5 separate regions of the Homo sapiens genome follow, and all the other regions are linked to region 1. The links are contacts of gene promoters, found by promoter capture Hi-C in human tissues and cell types (Jung and others, 2019). All regions are on one chromosome and are shown on one strand. The core of a region is centred on a gene start or on the middle of the fragment in contact, and the rest is flanking DNA. Distances in the headings are between cores, read along the strand shown.

Region 1 (3,989 bases), core at 468-2,967:
AAATAAAAACGAGAAGAAAGAGGACGTGTATAGGAAAGAGAAGGAAAGAATCAAGAGAAGTGACTCGGCGCGCAGACTTGGGCCACAAGCACCGGACCCGGAGCCCTCTTCCCAGCAGCCTGGCCCCTGGCTAGCCCCGGCCTTACCTGCCAGGCGTAAGGCGGACATGCGCTGGAACTCGGGCTCCTGAAGCCACTTCCACATCCTGCGGAAGGTCTCCCTGCCAGATTTGAGTTTACTCCACGGTTTTGGATTCCGGAGCAGGTCGGAGAGAGTCCCCTGAGACCGGCACAGCACCCTCTGCGCAAAGATCGCCTGGGGGATACTGTAGCGCTTCAGCTCCGCTGTGATGCGCTGGGCCACCTCTTTGGTGTTGATTTCTTCCAGCTGGCCCGACGTGGCCACCTGCGAGCCCGATGAGGACGAGGGTGGCCGCTCGCGACTGGGTGCCAGCACCGGCCCGTGAGACTGAGTGTGGCCCGGGTGGTGCAGGCCGTTCAGGTGCGACATCATGGCCGCAGGTGGGGTGCCCAGGCCGCGGGACAGGTGTTGCTCACCGCGGGTCAGCATGGCAGTGTGGTGCGCGTCGAAGTTGGGGCTGAGCATTTTGTCGTGGCCCGGCGGACCGTAGTTGGGCAGACTCTGCTGCGCGTTGTGGAGGCCGCCTAGCCCGTTGCCCAGCGGCGTGGCGGCCAGCGGGGACAGGCTCTGGCTCATGCCGGGCATCTCCTTGTAGGGACTGTAGAGGTTGTTCATGGCCGGGAGCCCGCGCTCGTCGCGCATGAGGGTGAAGCTGCCGCTGACGTTGCCGGACAGGCGCTGGTGGTGGTGGTGGTGGTGGTGGTGCGGATGGTGGTGCGGGTGAGGGTGGTGGAACTTGTCAGACACGGTGGAGATGGGTGGCAGCGGCTGGAGCGGTGTCAGCGTGGTGTAGGTGTTGCTCATGCCCATGCCAGGCGGAGACGAGTCGCAGGACATGCTCATGGCGTGGTGCAGCGGGATGGAGAGCTCGGGCCGGTAGTCGCCGCCGTCCAGGATCGAGGCCATGCTGGTGACCATGGCCGAGCGCGACGCCGCCGCTGCCGCCGCTGCCGCCGTGCCCAGCTCCTGGTGCGCGGTTGGAGGCGGCGGAGGGCCCCGCAGCGAGCCAGCGGCGCCGCGGCCCGCGTGGTGGGGGCTGGGGCTGGCCAGCAGCTCCTGCTCATGGCCCGGGCCCCCGCCGCCGCCCCCGCCGCCCCCGCCGCCGCCCCCGCCACTGCCGCCGCCGGCCGGCCCGTGCAAAGTGCCCAGACTTTCCATTGTCAGCTCCGGGTTCATGGCGCAGCCTTCTAGGTCTTTGGTGAGGCATCGATAGGCGGTGTAGGCAGCCTTCATTCAGTCCATCAGGGCCCGGGGGCGGCGGGGGCGGCGGGGGCGGCCGGCGGGCGGGCAAGGCGCGCGTGGCGGGGCTCGGCTGCGGGAGTGGGGGCGGGCGCGGGAGTGAGTGGAGAGGAGTGCGCGTGCGGGTGTGCGCCCCGGGCTGCGGGCGGGCTCGCCCGGGGTGGGGGCGGGGTGGGGGCGGACGGGGCGTGCGTGCGGGAGAGGGGAGGGGACGGGGAGGGAGGGAGGGATCACCGGGCCCCGCCGCTCGGGCCGGCTCGCAGCCTCGCCATGTCCGAGCCCGCTCCGGCGCCGACGTCTTCTGTTTGGGTGAGCGGGAGCTGTCCAGAAGGGCTCTGCCGCTCGCCGGGGCAGCCAACCTACCCTCCCGGACCTGGGGCGGGGCCACGCCCGACGGGCGCCAAGCGCAACCACTCCGAGGCCGCAGCTGCCCCGGGAGGCGGGCCTTCCACGGGAAGCTACCAGTGGCTGTGGAGGGGGCGGGGCCGCACTTTTCAGGTTTGGCTGACGGCTCGGTGCCTTTTTTACCTCCTTTGCTACTGGAATCAAACGTCAAGGAGAGGGAGGGAGGAGAAGGTGGGGGGGTCGCTGGGGAGAGGGAGGCTGGAGTGCGAGCGAGCGAGAGAGATTCGGTGAAAGATGCCGTGCTGTGTCCCCCCTGAGCAGCTGCGATCTGGGGGAAGGGGCATTGCTTCAATCGCCTTCGCCTCACCCCAAAGCTTTCCTGGAGGCGAGTAAGCCGGGAGCAAAAGACTCCGCTATGTGCCAGTATAGACAAACACTCGTCACTAACAAGCCACTTACCGAGAGTCCCTAGCTGGGAGCCAATAGTTTAGCCTTTTAAAATGCAGGCGCTAATGTATTCTAATGCATGGTAAATTCCCGAGGCCGGGACATGCATAATCTACGCGGTCAGAGCAACTGTAGTGCCCTCGTCGCCAGCGAGCTGCGGCCGGCCGGCGGCCCACGGGCGGCGCGGGCAGCAGTAATGCATGCAAAGTTAACACAATAACATCATTTAATTACCCGGTGAGCCCATAAATCTCAGTTATGAGGCTTCCGAAGAGCCCTGCTAGATTGCAAAACAAAACTAGAATTCCGGGAGCTGCCGTTTCAAGGTGACCAAGTGCTTTCTGCATCAGCGACTTGGAAAGAAGTGGGGAGAGTGTAGAACCGGTGAGGTGGAGGTGAGGAGGGTCGCTGGTGTCCCAAGTGAGCAAACTTCTCCTGGGGGCAGAGAGTAAGCAAACCAGCTGAGACGGCAACCACGGACCTTTCTCCTAACACGAGACACACACACGCGCACACACACACACACACACACACACACACACTCCCGCTTCTCTCAAATCCCGGGAGAGAAACGGCGGTGGGCAGACGACAAGGAATCCTGGCTGACACCTGCATATTCAAACCTTGTTTCTGAAAAGACCAGCGCCCCGGCCAGCCTGAGAACGCTCACAAGCCAAGGCTTTAAAAACCGCACCTACGTCTTCCTAGAATTTCCGTTGTTTGGCAACCCCAGGTCTGGAGGTGGGAGTGGAACTGGGGGACAGAGAGTTGGAGATTTCTGCAGTCCGAGTCGGGGTGGAGGGGTAGTTGAAGACAGAGAGGCCAACACCCGGCATAAAGCCTTAAACGTAACAAGATTCTTCCAAAGCAGGTTGCGCTCTGTTTGCCTCCGAAGATTCAAGCTAGCTGAGGTTGCGCAGATGTTGCCTTTGTTTAAAGAGACAGTAATTAAGGACAGGGTGGACATAAGTTTGAGAAGCGTGACCTATTTTCTTTTGATCAGCTGTCAAAAGAAGAGCAGGGGGTCTCCTTAAGACAGCCCCCTTCAACCACTTCCAGCTGTTAGAGAAAACTTGATAAGAAAACAAGGGCAGAGCTCGGAATACTGTATGTCCCTTCTTGGTGCCAGAGAAAGGTTTGATTCATTTGGAAAACAGTTCTTAGTCTCAGTGACCTTTTCTGCCGCCCTCCTCTCTCTTCTTGCTTCAGAGCAACACCCCCACCCCCACCCTGTCACATGAATGTACAGTGACGTTATTCATAGATCAACTTCATTGAGCTCTGGCCAATACGCTGCCAATTATTCTTTCAAATAGCGTCTTCTCTGTGTTATCAAAGCCTGAGTAAGAAAGCGGCAGATCCTCTGGTTTGCCAGACATACTTTTCTGGTTGCTCACATCTCTAGTGTCACAACAGGAGCCAGGTAAAATAACTCAGATTTTGGTTTCTCTGTTTTTCCTCTCCTCCTCACCCCCTCCTACTGTCTCTCTTCGCACTCCCTACCTTATATATGGCATCTGGACACTTGGGATGATTTGAGTCAGTTAATGTTTGAAATATAATACTGAGTTGAGCAAAAGTTCACGAGAGTGCAACCTGTTCTTGGTCCATGAGTGCACAGGGACTGAAATACAGCAGGAGAGAAGCAGAACTGGGAAGTAGTGGGTCTGATATGCCCCAGTGCTAAGGTAGCCTCTGCTGCTCTGCTGGCTTCAGTCTCAAGGAGTGGCCAGTTACCCTAGGCTGATGCTTCCTCCATACAGAAACCTAGGTATATAAATTGCCATTTAAATAAATTTTCAAAATGTTAAACTCAT
Region 2 (3,989 bases), core at 1,046-3,545, 450 kb after region 1:
GAGGTTTAGAAGCACTCAGCTGAACCTTATGCCTCACAACACACTTGGGGTGTCATTATCTCATGATAACCATACTCCCTGTCAAGCCTTATTGCTTAATTAGGGGTTACGAAGGTGATAAGACTAAAAGAAATCGGATGAACAGTACCTAAGATGAATGATACCTTAATCAACTTAAATCTGGTGGCTGAAGGAGGCGTGATGAACAGACACAATGAGTTACATGTTATTTTTAGAGAAATTTGTTAATAATAAATGAGGAGAAACCCAGTCTGCATTCCCAGATTATTTGAATTACATTTTCCAGGAGACATGATATTTATGATTAATAATTTAAATTGTGTTTTCACACAGTATGTAAAATGTTCAAGAAATTAATGATAACATGAAATTTAACTTTGACCTAAGATATCCAGCTTATGCATGACAGTGATTCATCATAATCCAAGCATAGGATTTAAGTATTAAGTCTGCAAGGGAACTGATCAATAACACCTACACCATGTACGATTTTAACAAAGTAACCTGAAACCAGAGACAAAAAATAACGTGATATACTCTTTACTATTTTTTTCTCTATTACACCTTAAAATAATCAAGCACAAAAGAAAAAAAATCATAGCACCAAAATGCTTTAAAAGGTTATGCCCAAATACGTAACTTTAGTTCTTTTGTTCTATTTTTATAAACAACTGCCATATTTGTGGACAAAATATAGCTTCAGATATGGTGCACTTGAAGCTGCTTTCCAATTCACTGTGAAACATCAATTATCTTTATCAAATAACAGTATCCTCATCTCAGTCCATTATCAAGATGGAGTCTTATTTTAGCTGGACTGCAGCCCTATCTGTATATCAGGGCTGGCCGCGGTGGCAGAGCGTGAGTGAAAGGCTGTGAGATAATCAATAATCATCATCAAATTGTGGTCGAAAGGTTGTGAGGATGGAAGTTTTTGATGAAACCTCACCTTTTTTTTTTTTTTTTTTTTTTTTTTGGTACAGATGATAAGGCTTAACCTTTGCAATACCTGATGATTATGTCTCAGTTAGAGGAATCCTTGTGTACACTTTCAAGTGGTTCTGAATGTCCAAAGACACACTGAAATACTTAGGCTTAAGTGGAACACAAACCTCATGCTATCAAAAACCATCAGGTGGAAGCGCTCAAAACAATTGTGAACATGGTTATTGTAAACTTGATCCGCAACTCAGACACAGGGAATTCAAACCCTGACTTACTATGGCTGTTAAATCCCTGTGAGTAAAGGTCAGCTCTGGAAGAACAATGTTTGCATAACAATAGGTAAAACACACCCTGTGGTTTTCCCAAAGGTTACTGAACTGTTGCCTAAGCCTATGGACCTTGATTTTAAAAAAGGCCTCTGCTTGAGACTTACAGGGTTTAATGGCATCTACTCTCATCCTGTGTCCTAAAATGTCATGAATTTGGCATGAAAAATGATGAGGAGATTCAATTTTTTAATTCAATAGAACAACACTAATTTGGAGGGATGAGAAGTGGAATGCCTTTTATTTTTATTTTTTTTTTATTTTCCCCCGTCATTGGGTTCTGTTTACATCAAGTGGACATAAACTGAAAGTAAATCAGCTGAGAAGCAGCTAGATTAAAATTAGGGACAACTTTGTTGTCTGGGGTTCTGTACAGATCTGTCATCCAGAGGCAGCCCACTAAGGCTATACTATATACCACCCCACCCTCTGAAGCCACACTTCTGAAAGCTTTAATTTAAAAATCCTTATTTTATAGTGGTTTGACATTTTTAAAAGCATACATTTAGAAAACTATGTATCCTTCAAACATAAAACCTATCAAAGTATGATAAAACATGAAAACTAAATCCATAAACCAGAACAAAGGAATTATCATTTCAAAATGTCAAAGTGTTGGTAGTTTGATAATACCACAGTTTAAAAGCAAGATCCTTTTCTTAAATTGCAAAATTCACTGATATAAATGGTCAAAATTTTAAACATCTTAAAGTGGTGAGCTACTAATCATTGAACATATCGCTATCAGTATTACAGTAGATGTTTTGGAAACAGACCCTAGTTCAGGGAAATCATGAAGTTGAATATGTATACACACACACACACACACACACACACACACACACACACACACACACACACAAAGAAGCTGAAATTAGCTCTATTATAATTTCCAAAGTCTGAATTTATTTAAAGTAGGTTTGTTAAAGAAAATTTTGTTCTAATGAAAACACTCTAAACAACTTCAGTAAAAAGCAACCAATTATATTAACCTAATTTGTGACCTATCTTTCCTATAAAAATGTCCAACACAAATTTAGAGTAATTGCCCCTTTTTGAGCTATATTGCCTTTCCTATAGTAACAGCAGTTAATATACATGAAAATATTTAAACTCTCTTTAAGAAACATGTACATTTTATTCACTCTACCAACAGAAAAAGCCTGTTTCTTAGGATCTCTGAGCTCCTTTTGACATGCTATAATTTCCATCAATACTTAGTGTACAATACCTGTTAATGCTAATTGTGGATTAGGAAATATATCAGAAATAATTAAAAATTAATAAAATATATAAAACCTCCAATATAAAACAATATAAAACAAAAATACATGCTCAAGGAGACCCATTTTCCACTGATTAAAGCTTCAATTAAAAAAATATTTCAAGGTAACTAAGAGGAAAGATTTTACTTGATTTTGTGTACTTGATATAGAGAAGTTAAAATGTATCTTGGAAGACATTTTGAGAATGGCAAATTAGAAACATACTAATCAAATACAATCAGAAACTTCAACTTCCCCCACCTCCTCCCCATTCACTATAACAAATATATACCACAGTAACAAATCATAGCATAATCCTTGTGATATATTTTAAAATTTGGTTTTGAAAATACATGTTATAGCAACATGTCAAGCCTAATGTTAATGCAAAATATTCTTTTCCTTAGCCTATTATTTTAAAAGTATAATATTTATATTAATCATGCTAAATTTCATGTTGACAATATATGCAAAGCTAGCACTGGCTTTTTTAAGACAATAAAAATTTAGCAGTGTGTGGAATCTTGCTATAGAAGTAGCTATTAAAAGTACACAGGACAGAATCCTAAAATTGCTGCAACACTTTACCCCACATACAATAAATGTTCTCCAGAAACACTGTGGTGTTCTAAGGCTGAATCAGTTGGCTCCCAGAGCTGAGTAGCAATAAGATAGTATGTTTTATTATGAGTGTCATGGAGATGGTGTGAAAAATCAAGAGCCACAGGCAGTCGGCAGCAATGGGTCAATAATGCTCCCAGAGACATTGTGTAGATAATCAACAACAAGGCCCGAGGTTCTCTCGGCACTGCACACAGCTGAAGGGCAAATCAATACAGCCAGGGAAGGGCACTGCCCTGCTCCACTTCCCACAGTACGCTATGGCTGCTGTAGGAAAACCGCCCCCAAAATGAAAATAAAGGAAACTGGTTGTGCAACTAACAATCACAAATTCATCCTTCAAAGAGGCTTCCAAAAAATCCAAACACAATTCAATATAAAGTCTGCCCAAAAATGAACCCAGGGGAAGGTTTCATTTAAAAAGTGCTGCATAAATAGGGATTAAGACATAATGACTTAAATATAAAAAAGGGCAAACATGGTCTTATGAAGTATTCTAGTTTATAATATTAAAATCAAAGTTTAACCAAGTTTTTTTGTGAGTAAAACATTCCAGTTTGGGAGATTTTACTTTGTTAACTTTGGTGTCTAGTATTGCTAGTGCTCAAACAGATCATGCTCATGTTTATCATTAGAAGGGTAAATAAGAACTAAAACTATGCTACATTTTAGAAAGTGTGAATTATATTTGAATAACTTTGTTTCCAAAAAAGGAACATAACATTTAAATGTATTCTATTGGTTCTGAGGACATTTTGCCAACAGTTTTTGTAACTGACACTTTGCTAAATATATGATGCTAATATTTCAT
Region 3 (3,989 bases), core at 666-3,165, 390 kb after region 1:
GCCTTTAAAGGAAGGAAAGAGCGTTTTCACATCTTCTTGCTGTCTGGAATTTAGATCTGATGGTAGGTGTTGAAGGTGGCTTCTAGAAGCTGGAAAAAGGCAAGGAAAGATAATCCTCCCGAGAGCCTCAGCCAGCCCTGCCGACATTGAGACCTAACCCAGTGACGATGATTTTGGACTTCCCACCTCCAGAACTGTAAAATAATAAATTTGTGTTGTTCTAAGGCATTAAGTTGGAGAAACTTATTATGGCTGCAATAGGAAATATAATGGGGGAATCCAGATAAAAGGAGAATCCAGTCCATGAAGGAAAGGGCATGCCAGGGTGAAGCAATAACGCTGTTCTGCATGCTCCCAAATCCCATCAGTGATCTTCTCCCCAACCTTCAAGGTCCAGCAGCAGCCTCCTCTCAGAAGCCTTCCTGGACCACACCAAGCAACTGGCTTCCATGCTGATCTCATCAGAGAAACTACATACTGGTATAGAAAGATAGGGCCTCTTGGGGAGGAAGTGAATGTAGCCCCAGCCCTGCTAATCCAGAGCCTAGCACAAGCTGCCCTTCCTTGTGGAACACCTGGCACCATAGTTACCATCTGTGCAGACCATGGTGCCTTGGAGTTTCAGCCATTCAGAAGAACAAAGTAGGCCCAAAGGAGGAAAGAAGGAGGTACACAGGCAGTATTCCTTCTAGCGAGGCTAGTGTGTGTTGGCCTGAAGGCCCAACAGGCAAGATCTATCTCTCCAAAGGGGAAGGGACCATCCTAGAATTGCCAATATGGCACCTGTCTGCTCCCTTCCCACCTCCCCTCACCAGGTTGTGAAAACTTGACCTCACAATCCTTCCCCTGTTAAGAGAACTTGACCTCACAATCGTTCTCACATAGAGTTCCAGAAGGCCACCACCAAGTGGTTGGAACTTGCCATCCCTGCCCCAGACCTTAAAAGTAAGAAAAGCAATAATTAAAACGGCTTCACCATTTGCATAACAACCACCACTATGATTATTACTGGCAGGAATCATCAATGGCTGCCAAAATTACTGCAAAAATGTATGATGGGGAACAGTGTCTCTGCATAATCTCAAAGCATTTCCTCATAAGACACATATTAATTATAAAGGAAAAAAATCATAGTTTACATATTTTATAGTTGAGAAAACTGACAGATACTACCTTAATCATGTGATAAAAGTGGACATTGCCAGGAATGACCATCATGTTCCTCTTGATACACTGCACTGAGAAGGACACAATGTCACTGCTGTGGTCTCCTGGCAAAAAAAAAAGCACAATCTGAATCTAATCATGAAGAAACATCAGGCAATCCTGAATTGGGACTGTCTGCAAAATAACTAACCTGTACTCTTCAAAAGTGTCAAGGTCATGAAAGACAAAGGAAGACTGAGGACCTGTCAGAGATGAGAAGAGTCTCAATTGGTATCAGAATCAAAGAAACTGTGGGGTCTTGGATTGGATCCTGGACCAGAAAACGAACATTTGCTGACACATTTGGTAACATTTAAGGTCTGTAGCTTAGTTTAACAGTATTGGTCAATGTTAATTCACCAGTTTTGATTCTTGAACTATGATTATGTCACATGTTACCGTTTGGGATGCTGAGTAAGGGCACATGGGAACTCTTTCTTCAACTTGTTTGTAAGTCTGAAATTATTTCAAAGTAAAGAGTTTATTTAAAAACTTTCTCTATTATCTGAACACTTTCATATTACTGATTTGATTTTATCCTAATTACAACGTCTCAAGAGGGTGGCATTATCTATATTTACTGAGAAAATGGGAGATTAAGTAAGGAAAGTGATTTGTCCAGGTCACCAGCAGGGAAGTAGCATGCAGACCTGAGACTTGAATCTGAATTTCCTATTTCCAAATCCTAGTTGCCTTTCCAACTAGAATGAACTGGCTATGCTACATGTCTTCATAAAAGAAGAAGATGACTTTTTGAGAGACTTGGGTCTAACCAGGACATAGTCAACAGTCCCGCTCTGGGGGCATTCTGATTCCATCTGCCTTCCCTCCACCCATGACCCCACAGGTGCATGCACAGCATCATCCATATCAGAGATAGGCTGACCCCCTTGCCAGTCCTTGCATTCACCAGCAATTCCACCCTTCTCGAGGCTAAAACAGGGCCTCTTTTCACCACAAATAGGGTTTTCAATGCACTGGGGAGTAGAAAGGATGCTTGCAGGGTTCTTAGCCAGGAGTTCAGTTCAGCAGGAACTTTGAATCTATTTAATTCTGGTTACAAATGAGTTGACTTCAGCTCCCAATCTATAAAAGAATTGTTGAGAAACAGAGTGTTGAACTTGGAGGGAGCTCATTTGGGTTCTGAGCTCTGATTGTCAGGGATTTTCATCCCAGTTTTCCCAGGATTGGCTAGGTTTATGTCTGTTGTCCTGGGGTAATTATTAATTGTTCCATCTTTCGCCCTCAAAAGTGTCCCAGTTAGGACAAGAAACTATCTGGTCACCACATACAGTAATTATCTGGTTGAACCTCTGATTTTCAAGGAAAGAACAGAAGGCCCAGCGAGGTGGAGTAACCTGCCCAAGGCCACACAGTCCTTCAGTAACAGTGTCTCCATTGGCTGCAGTACTATTGCCAGGGATGACCGGTTTTAACTATTTTGGTTGGGACTTTGGTGTCAGTACCTTCTACCCCAGTTCTCAGTTTCATCCTTGGTTGCTTTCTTTGGGGCTGGGTCTCGCTCCCTGCAATGGAAGCAGTTGCCCTCCCTTCGTCATCTCCCTCTGGGGAAGCTGTAGTAGTCTCCTAATTGGTCTCCTCATGCCTTCTCTTACTCCTCTCCAATCTCGCACATCAGCCAATGGTTTCTTCGAAACACAAATCTCATAGTGTTCTCTTCCTGTTAATGCCCCATCCCACACCAACCCTGTGTGACCTGACTCCTCTTGCAAACCACTCCCTACCCCCGCATCTTCCTTTCCCCCTTTTGCTTATAACTACTGCTCTTTATCTGTCTCACCCACGGGAATGTAAGCTCCACAAGGGCAGGAACCAGGTCTCTTCTGATTCAAAGTTACATCCCTGGTGCCTCTTAAATGCTCAGCACCATGGATGATCAATGAAGATGAGATGTCCTTTGCAGGGACACGGATGACTTGTAGTCCTGACATTCTGATTCTATGGAGTTGATCAGAAAACCACTTAAGGCACCCGGGCCCCAGTGGTACAGCGTTTTCCCTGGATCCGATTCCTTTTTCCTATGATGCAAAGAAACATAGAACTAGAAGAATAACCTTACAGAATATGATCTATGTAAAATGAAACATCCCGAATCTCACATCTCCATACACTAGCCTCATCTGGAAGCTGCTGTGGTTCTTGTCATGCCCTTTTCATCTCAACCTACCATGTTTCTGGAACATGAACATGAACATGGACAGAAATCATCCTATCAATCCCCCTCAAACAAAAACCAAACACATGATAAAGCCATACTGGTCTTCTGACATCAGCCTTTCCAACCCCTCCGTCATACAGATGGGAAAACAGATGCCCCAGAGAGATTGGCTTTAGGATCTGGGCTTGGGCCAATCTTTTGATGGGGAGCAGCATACCTTAGTGCACCCCTGTGCAAGAGGCCTGGGCTTCCACCTTGGGACACAGTGAATGGTGGTGCCCAGAGCCAGTCCCAGCCTGGTGCCTAATGAAACTATCAACAGCACCTGTGAGGTTCCACATGGACTCCTGTGAAGTGTTTCTTAAACTGTAGGTGCACACGAATCATCCAGGAAGCTTGCCAAAATGCAGTTGTGACCCAGGAGGTCTGGGTGTGACCTAAGGTTTTACATTTCTAAATAGCTCCCAGGGGATATGGATGCGGCTGGTGCCCAGACCACACTTTGCTTTTTAGTTTTTGTTTTTGTTTTTGTTTTAATTATACCTTAAGTTCTGGGATACATGTACAGAACGTGCAGGTTTGTTACATAGGTATAGGAATACCT
Region 4 (3,989 bases), core at 856-3,355, 370 kb after region 1:
CCACTAATTCCCTTGATGGTTGGTTTAGGACTTTCTGCCTCCACTATTGCTCTCGGTACTGGAATAGCAGGCATTTCAACCTCTGTCACGACCTTCCGTAGCCTGTCTAATGACTTCTCTGCTAGCATCACAGACATATCACAAACTTTATCAGTCCTCCAGGCCCAAGTTGACTCTTTAGCTGCAGTTGTCCTCCAAAACTGCCGAGGCCTTGACTTACTCACTGTTGAAAAAGGAGGATTCTGTATATTCTTAAATGAAGAGTGTTGTTTTTACCTAAATCAATCTGGCCTGGTGTATGACAACATAAAAAAACTCAAGGATAGAGCCCAAAAACTTGCCAACCAAGCAAGTAATTACACTGAATCCCCTTGGGCACTCTCTAATTGGATGTCCTGGGTCCTCCCAATTCTTAGTTCTTTAATACCCATTTTTCTCCTTCTTTTATTCGGACCTCGTATCTTCCATTTAGTTTCTCAATTCATCCAAAACCGTATCCAGGCCATCACCAATCATTCTATATGACAAATGTTTCTTCTAACAACCCCACAATATCACCCCTTACCACAAGATCTCCCTTCAGCTTAATCTCTCCCACTCTAGGTTCCCATGCCGCCCCAATCCCGCTCGAAGCAGCCCTGAGAAACATCGCCCATTCTCTCTCTCCACACCACCCCCCAAAAATTTTCGCTGCCCCAACACTTCAACACTATTTTGTTTCATTTTTCTTATTAATATAAGAAGGCAGGAATGTCAGGCCTCTGAGCCCAAGCCAAGCCATCGCATCCCCTGTGACTTGCACGCATATGCCCAGATGGCCTGAAGTAACTGAAGAATCACAAAAGAAGTGAAAATGCCCTGCCCCGCCTTAACTGATGACATTCCACCACAAAAGAAGTGTAAATGGCCGGTCCTTCCCTTAAGTGATGACATTACCTTGTGAAAGTCCTTTTCCTGGCTCATCCTGGCTCAAAAAGCACCCCCACTGAGCCCTTGCGACCCCCCACTCCTGCCCACCAGAGAACAAACCCCCTTTGACTGTAATTTTCCTTTACCTGCCCAAATCTTATAAAACAGCCCCACCCCTATCTCCCTTCGCTGACTGTCTTTTTGGACTCAGCCCGCCTGCACCCAGGTGAAATAAACAGCCATGTTGCTCACACAAAGCCTGTTTGGTGGTCTCTTCACACGGACGCGCATGAAAGGCTTTCCCTAATGTCAAAGATTTGGAGGAAAATCACCCAAGATGGCTCCAAGAACCACACACATCCAAGCAAGCCAACTGGAAGTGCAGACACCCCTGCAGACACGACCGTGTCCTCATCTGTGTTCCAGTCATTGGGACTACGAGAGCTCTCAGGAAGATGAACAAGAAACAACATCTAAATAAGTAATAGTGGTAGGGCAATTGGAGCCTCCTCATTCTCCAGCTTCCTCCCCCAGAGCTCATCGCCTGACCCCCAACTTTCCCCATTTTCCAAGTCAGTGCACTTGGTGGGGGCCCATCAGGCCAGTGCTCCCTGATCACATCCCGTCGTTGCTTGGCCAGGGAACTGTTGTCAATTTAGAGAAGGTGGAATTCATTTCTTTACATTCACATCCGATCTTATCAAAGGGGCTGCCATGAGGGGCAGAGCTGCTGGTTTTGTTCTTTCAGCTTCCTCTCTCCCCCTTCCCCCACTCTGTGGGTCTCTCTCCCTCTCCCCCTTAGCCTCCAAGCCTGAGTCAGAGATCTCCTCTCTGAAGTTAATGGCTGTAAGAAGATTTCATTTTATTATATCTTCAACAGTCCTGTTATTTTAAATTTGCCTTTGACAAACTCAGAGCCCTGGAATCACCATTTAGGAAACAAAGCTTAACCGGGAGCTTTTAAGAAGGGTATTTTCCCTTCCATTTTAGCAGGCTAGTAAAAATCAATAATGCTGTGTTCCCATCTGTAGACCACCTGACATCTCATGAATGGTCAATGGAGCCTGCTCTGACTGCAGAAGCCACTGAGAGATGCACTGGCCAGCCTGGCATGCAAGCTGGACACTCGCCTTGCCTTTCTGCCAATTTCAGGGCTTCACTCACCCCAGAAGGTGCTCCTGGGTGCCTTCCTTGGGAGGAAGGCTGGGTTTTTCCTGACAGAGTTTACAGTGGCCAAATTGAGGATGGGAAAATTGTGGGATGGGGAAGAGAGATGTTATCTGAGCTCAGAGATGATCAAACCCTTTGTCCCCCAAAGGATTCGTTAAATAGGACAAGCCTAGGATGGGGATTTGGAGGGTATTATTCCAGTGCAATTAGCCATGAGCTCCAGGAGGCAAGAAGCTGTCAATTGGTCCTCACTGATGCCAAAAGGTTTGGGACCCCAAACCCTGCCCGGATGCTTGTCAACCCCTTGATAGGCTGAAGCAGGGGCAACAGCAAAACTCAGCCCTGGTGCAGGACACAACGCCCTCTGCCTCCATGTGTGCCCCAAGGCATGCGCTTCTCCCACTGCCCAGAGGCATCTAAATGTGTCCTTGCAGGACAGCCAGTGTGGCCTTTCCCACAGCACATGTACAGAAACAAATGTGACTTCCAAACAATGGAGCCAAAATTTAGAAGCCACTGTGACTGCAGGACCCATGAGAAACAGGACTCCGTGGAAAACAGCCAAGACAAGGCAGGGAACCATGAAACAGCCAACCCCCCTCGCACCACCCTGAGGCCTTTTCAAAGACACAGACTGAAACATATTGTCACTCCTAAGCCAAGTTTAACTTCTAAAGAAATCTTTTCAAGATGTTCAAAGCGCCAAATGCAGTTTAGCTCTAAGCACTACCATCTGCCACTGCAGGCAAGCCCATCCCGTAATCCCTGGCTCGGGCAGAGGCCCGCGGAGCAGGGTTGCCTGCTGTGCCCACTGGAGAATGCACATTGGGTAGCGAGTGACAAAGGGCCCGCTGGGGCTCTGCCGGCTCCTGGGCAGCGGCACATGGGGTGCAGCAGGGTGTGGAAGCAGTTGAGGAGACAGCACATCTGTGCAGACATAGCACACCTGGGCTGAAGCCAGGTCTCAAAGTGACACCCAGAGCCCCTGTAGTCATTGTGAGTAGGGAGGGAAAACTCAAGGTCCACTAGCGAAGCTTGGAATTCCTTTGCCTCTAGAATCTCAGGTGCAAATAAATGGACACATATTTGATTTCCAAATGGAAACTCATCTTGCATTGGTTTTTGTTTCTCTCTTTTTTTTTCTGTTTATTTTTTTCTGTTCTGGAAAATGCCATCATGAGTTGGCATGAAATTAAACAGCTGCCCATTTTAATGGGAGAACTAATACTCTTTGTGAGCTATGCCTCATCCACCATCTCAACTCCAACTTTGTATATCCTGAGTGCAGGAAATTCAAGACAGGCCAGAAGGTCTGTTACACTGCGGCCAGGAGCACAGCACTGGCACATCACAGAGACTCAGAGCCAGAGAAGGAAGAGATGCAGGGGCCAGGGCCCCTCTCAGTGGAGGGTGAAGGGGCTCAGGGGTGAACTCAGGGTTAAGGGAGATCGGGGAGGCCCAAAGGATCAGAGTGGAGTGGAAGGAGGCGAAGTTAGCCAGGAAACAAGATGACCACGAGGACCTCAGATGTGCCCTCATCCTCTGAAATCCCCTGGAGCCCTCAGACCCAGAAACAGGAGATTGGCTTGGTTTGGGGTTGGGGTTTCGTTTTTATTTTCTCTGGTGCCTGACCGGAGTCTGGGTGATAGCCTTTAAAACACCTTGAAATCTGTAGCCACCACTTCAGCCAAACGCCCAGCCCGCCATGAAAGCATCTAGAAGCACAGCGAAATGGCGCACAAGGAGGCTCCAAATTCTTCCTCCCTTCACCTTTCCCTTTCCTGCAGGCCCCCTTGCACCCACTCCATCCCTGACCCTGCTCAGGGTTAGTAAACCTGGGGCTCTAGGTGGTGGCCCCAGCAGGCCCAGCTCCCTGGGGGCCATGTGTCCATCTGTGAACTGTGCAAAGG
Region 5 (3,989 bases), core at 456-2,955, 320 kb after region 1:
AAAACATGATAGGAGTTGTGGTTTCCCTACTATATTTGGGAAGAATAATCCACCCCCTATATTTTTCCCTACAGACATGTGAGACTTTCTAATACCAAATCAATCCAGATTCTCCTACCTACCCACTCACCACCAAATTGAGACAGATTTCATCAGCAGGGGAAAAATCTATTTAGAGAGGAAATTAGAGGAAAAATTGGGGTTAATCATTTTAGCTGTGTTTTCTGTTGTTCAACTCACATGGCTCGGATGGATGCTATCAGCCCATCCCATCTGTGGCTCTTCCTCTGAGGCTGAAGATGACCTGGTGTGGCCCGGGGCCAAAGAGAGCCAAGGACGAAGGGACACCAGGCCCTCCTCTGGGTGAAATAATTGGAATTTCATTAGAGGAGTGTGGTAGATGAATGTGGCATAGACCCTGGTGCCAAACCTCTAGGGTTGAAACCCCAGATCTGCTATGTGCTAACTTTGTGACTTCAACAAGTTACCTAACCTCTCCATGCCTCAGTTTCCCCATTTATAAAATGGGGAGAGTAATAGCACATACCTTGTACAATTGTTGTGACGATTAATGAGCTCATGTGCCTTAAATGTTTAGAAGAGAGGCTGACGTACAGTAAGCACAATGGGGAGTAAGTCAAATCTCTCCTCTAGACCCTCCAAATAAGCAAGTTTGTTACACAGAAGAAGAGACTTTAATCCCAACAAGAAGATAATCAAATTTAACTAACTCAGCCATAGGTGCAAGGCCAAAGGTTGCACTTAAGTGCAACCTTCTTCCCTTACACTGTTTATTGATCTTCCTCAACAACAAAAGCAACATCCATTCAAATCAATAGCCCAAGCTAGGGTGGACTCTGAATGAACAGGAAGTGAATTGTCAGGCTGGGGCCCTAAGCCAAGCCCTCATCCTAAGGCTTGTACCTCCAGGACATAATTCACTACCTTCTGCGGTGGTGGCCTTTGAAAAACCACCCGGGCAGCTAGATGTCCCTCAGAAGCCAGGAAGAGTTGGAAGACTTCATCCTGCTCTACATAATTTAAATGGCTACATTCTTCTAGGCATTACTTAGAAGTTGCCCCAGCGCCTACATTAATGTTAGCTGCCCCTTTGTTAAATATGCTTATTGATGTGTGGCTTGTTTTTGTGTCTGGGACTTTGAGGAGCTGAAGGTTATAAAAGCAAAAGACTGGTGAGTGTTAACATTGAATTTGACCACACACACACAAAAAAAATATAATTATCTCAGTGCCCCCATCTGCACATGTCACAGTGAACATCTGCACATGTCACAGTGATTCTGTTCCAAAAGAAAGCACTAGTTACAGATAGACCTTGATTCCCTACCCACCATTGCTCCTTCTACACTGCCAGCCAGCCAGAGCTTTCCCTGCTGGCCTGCATTCATGAATACCAGTTTTCATGAAGCCATGGCATTTTGTCTTTGGAGAGCAGGATGTAAAACTAGAGTGTGTCAACATGATGGAGAACTATGCTGCCATAAAAAATGATAAGCATGTGGATTGTGTCAATATATGGAAATAAGTATGTGAAATAGTGCTAAATGGAAACAAGTACAACACCCAATAGTTTGCACACATGGATTACAACTCCATCAATAATTATGTCTGCACACTCATCAGCAAGGGCTGGAAGCAAATTTAGAGTGGTGTACGTAGAGGATTATTTACTGGATTCTTTTTTTCTCCCATAGAATCTTATATATTTCTTATTTTTTATGAGAAGAATGGAAGTTTGGACTGAGACCAACAAGAAAAGCATTTAGCTGCTGACACAATTGCTTAGACAGGAAGGGACACTTGCAGTGGTTGGAAATATGCATCAAGGGAAGCTGCAAGCCTAAAAACTCATACAGTTTTATGAGCTCTGCAGACCCTCCCACTCCCAGACTGGCGGCAGCCACAGGCTGAGTGGAGACTCTAGCACCATTCTCCCAGACGGGCAGAGCACCAACTTCAGGGATGCAGAATACAGAGGAGGCTTCAATGGATATATGGCTTGTTTGCTACTATGTTCACATTTTGCTTTAGAAGGGGGTAACCACATTGTCCTGGCTTGTCCAGGCACAGCCCTAGTTGTCCTAGTATAATTATTAATATCATCCCCTTTTAGTTCAAAAGTGTTCCTGTTAGGATAATAAAATATATGGTCACCCTAATTAAAGGGGCCATTCAGGCCCCAGCTTGGTGCCTAGGAAGGTAAGTGTATTAGCCTGTTCTCCCTGCTGCTAATAAGGACATACCTGAGACTGGGTACTTTATAAAGGAAAGAGGTTTAATTGACTCACAGTTCTGCAGAGCTGGGGAGGCCTCAGGAAACTTACAATCATGGCAGAAGGGGAAGCAAACACATCCTTCTTCACATGGTGGCAGGAAGGAGAAGTGCTGATCAAAAGGGGGGAAAGCCTCTTAACCACCAGATCTCGTGAGAACTTACTCACCATCATGAGAGCAGTAGCATGGGGATAACTGCCCTCATGATTCAATTATGTCCCACCCCACTGGGTCCTTCCCACAGCACATGAAAATTATGGGAACTACAACTCAAGATAAGATTTGAGTGGGGACACAGCCAAACTATATTAGTAAGTGATACCTGTCCCTAAAGGCACCAAAAGACAGGCACATAGATACTCTCACTCTGATCTTACAACAGCCAGGGGATCAGGATGGCATTTCTGTCCCCAATTCACAAAAACATTTAGCTGTGGGCATGTATTGGGATTGCTGCCAGCGCTGTGTTGGAACCAGCTACTACCAGCCCATGGCAGCCGACTGGCACATACCTTCCCAGCTTTACATTCAGTGATATCATCTTGGTAGCTTGAAACTGAAATTGATGGGAGTATCTACACCATGGAAATCAGGAAGTTCTACAAGTTTGGGCTTTTATTTTTTCCAAGGGGGGGTAGGAGTTTGTTGTAAGATATTGGGCAGCACATCACAGATTGCTGGAGTCACTGAAGCTAGAATGTACCTTCTTATAGGACTAGATGATCAGACAGGTTTATACTGAGCTCCCAGTCAAAGCCCCAAAGGGTAACCCAAAAACTATGGAATGTGGTAATCCCTTGCAGACAGGAGAAATGGACAAGCATCTGTGGTTATTTTCCTCACCCATTGGAAATAAAATGAGAACCCAAACACCAATCAATTCAGTTGTCTTACGATATGACAGCTTGACTCACAGCCCAGCTTATCTGATACCTGACAATGTTGTTTGCATCCTATTAAAGCAGATAACCAGTGTGCTGTTGATGCAGCACTGAGTCTTCCTACAATGACAGCTTTTGAATCATGGCTCTTTCTTCATCATATGAGTCATCAAAAAACTCCATACCAATTGACACCGTAACATGTGTGTCACTACAAAGTGGCTTATTCTTTGGCACCAACGACATTTTGTTAATTTGTCCCTCCCCCACCCACACCTCATCCTGCAGCTCCTAAGTAGAGACCTTGGTGAAAGCTACATTTCATGGTCACGGACAATTCATTACTTCCTGTCACTTGCTATTTATTATTGGCTCTCTTTTGTAAACGTGGCAAGCAAAGGATGAACTTCTACAAAGTTGTAACAAGTACTTTAAGTGACTTTCTGGCACCTGCACTTCCATACTTGGTGAGTGTATTTGCTAAATCTAAAAGGTTTAATGAGAGAATCGAAGGTGAAGGAAATTTGGGTCTGGTCAGGAAACGTAAGGTACCAAAGAAAAAAGAGTGAAAGGGACCATCCCCAGAAGAGATTCTTCTCTAACTGGGCATGCTCAGCTGTGCAGGCTTTGAGGATGAAAGGAGCACTGTGTCTGCATTGATGAAGCATCTCCTGTTTGTAAAGTACTCTCCTACATGGCACAGGATAATAGATTAAAAACAGGGCATGTGCTTGCTGCCTTTATAAGCTAGTTGGAAGAGATGGGATGGAGGCAGAGGAAATAATGGGGTGCTGGTGAATGGGAGAGACAAGA

The links. The method cuts DNA at HindIII sites, captures the fragments that hold promoters and counts their contacts. A contact is called where the count stands out against the background at its distance.
Region 2: a fragment that was not itself captured here is called in contact with the fragment with the promoter of ONECUT2 in region 1 in 2 of the 25 tissues and cell types used here (heart right ventricle and mesendoderm cells).
Region 3: a contact is called between a fragment that was not itself captured here and the fragment with the promoter of ONECUT2 in region 1, in 1 of the 25 tissues and cell types used here (mesendoderm cells).
Region 4: a contact is called between a fragment that was not itself captured here and the fragment with the promoter of ONECUT2 in region 1, in 1 of the 25 tissues and cell types used here (mesendoderm cells).
Region 5: a contact is called between a fragment that was not itself captured here and the fragment with the promoter of ONECUT2 in region 1, in 1 of the 25 tissues and cell types used here (H1 embryonic stem cells).

Annotation. Positions count from the first base shown.
Region 1 is chr18:57,433,102-57,437,090 of GRCh38, reverse strand. ONECUT2 (one cut homeobox 2) reads right to left here and starts at 1,717. Exons shown (of 2, transcript NM_004852.3): 1 at 147-1,717. The coding sequence starts at 1,374. RefSeq lists a silencer at 1,788-1,837 and enhancers at 1,831-2,410, 2,411-2,991. The HindIII fragment of the contact is 18,346 bases long and covers 1-3,989 here.
Region 2 is chr18:56,984,294-56,988,282 of GRCh38, reverse strand. The region is part of intron 26 of WDR7 (WD repeat domain 7); the gene reads right to left. Among named protein-coding and RNA genes, the nearest start is that of WDR7-OT1, 54 kb to the left of the region's middle. RefSeq lists an enhancer at 762-1,611. The HindIII fragment of the contact is 3,040 bases long and covers 776-3,815 here.
Region 3 is chr18:57,043,216-57,047,204 of GRCh38, reverse strand. It overlaps WDR7-OT1 (WDR7 overlapping transcript 1), which reads right to left. Exons shown (of 3, transcript XR_001753461.2): 2 at 3,008-3,245; 3 at 1-1,409. Among named protein-coding and RNA genes, the nearest start is that of WDR7-OT1, 5.2 kb to the right of the region's middle. The HindIII fragment of the contact is 5,427 bases long and covers 1-3,989 here.
Region 4 is chr18:57,061,862-57,065,850 of GRCh38, reverse strand. The region is part of intron 2 of LINC-ROR (long intergenic non-protein coding RNA, regulator of reprogramming); the gene reads left to right. Among named protein-coding and RNA genes, the nearest start is that of LINC-ROR, 8.3 kb to the left of the region's middle. RefSeq lists enhancers at 638-1,173, 3,272-3,989. The HindIII fragment of the contact is 5,495 bases long and covers 1-3,989 here.
Region 5 is chr18:57,109,815-57,113,803 of GRCh38, reverse strand. No RefSeq gene overlaps it. Among named protein-coding and RNA genes, the nearest start is that of BOD1L2, 35 kb to the left of the region's middle. The HindIII fragment of the contact is 5,562 bases long and covers 1-3,989 here.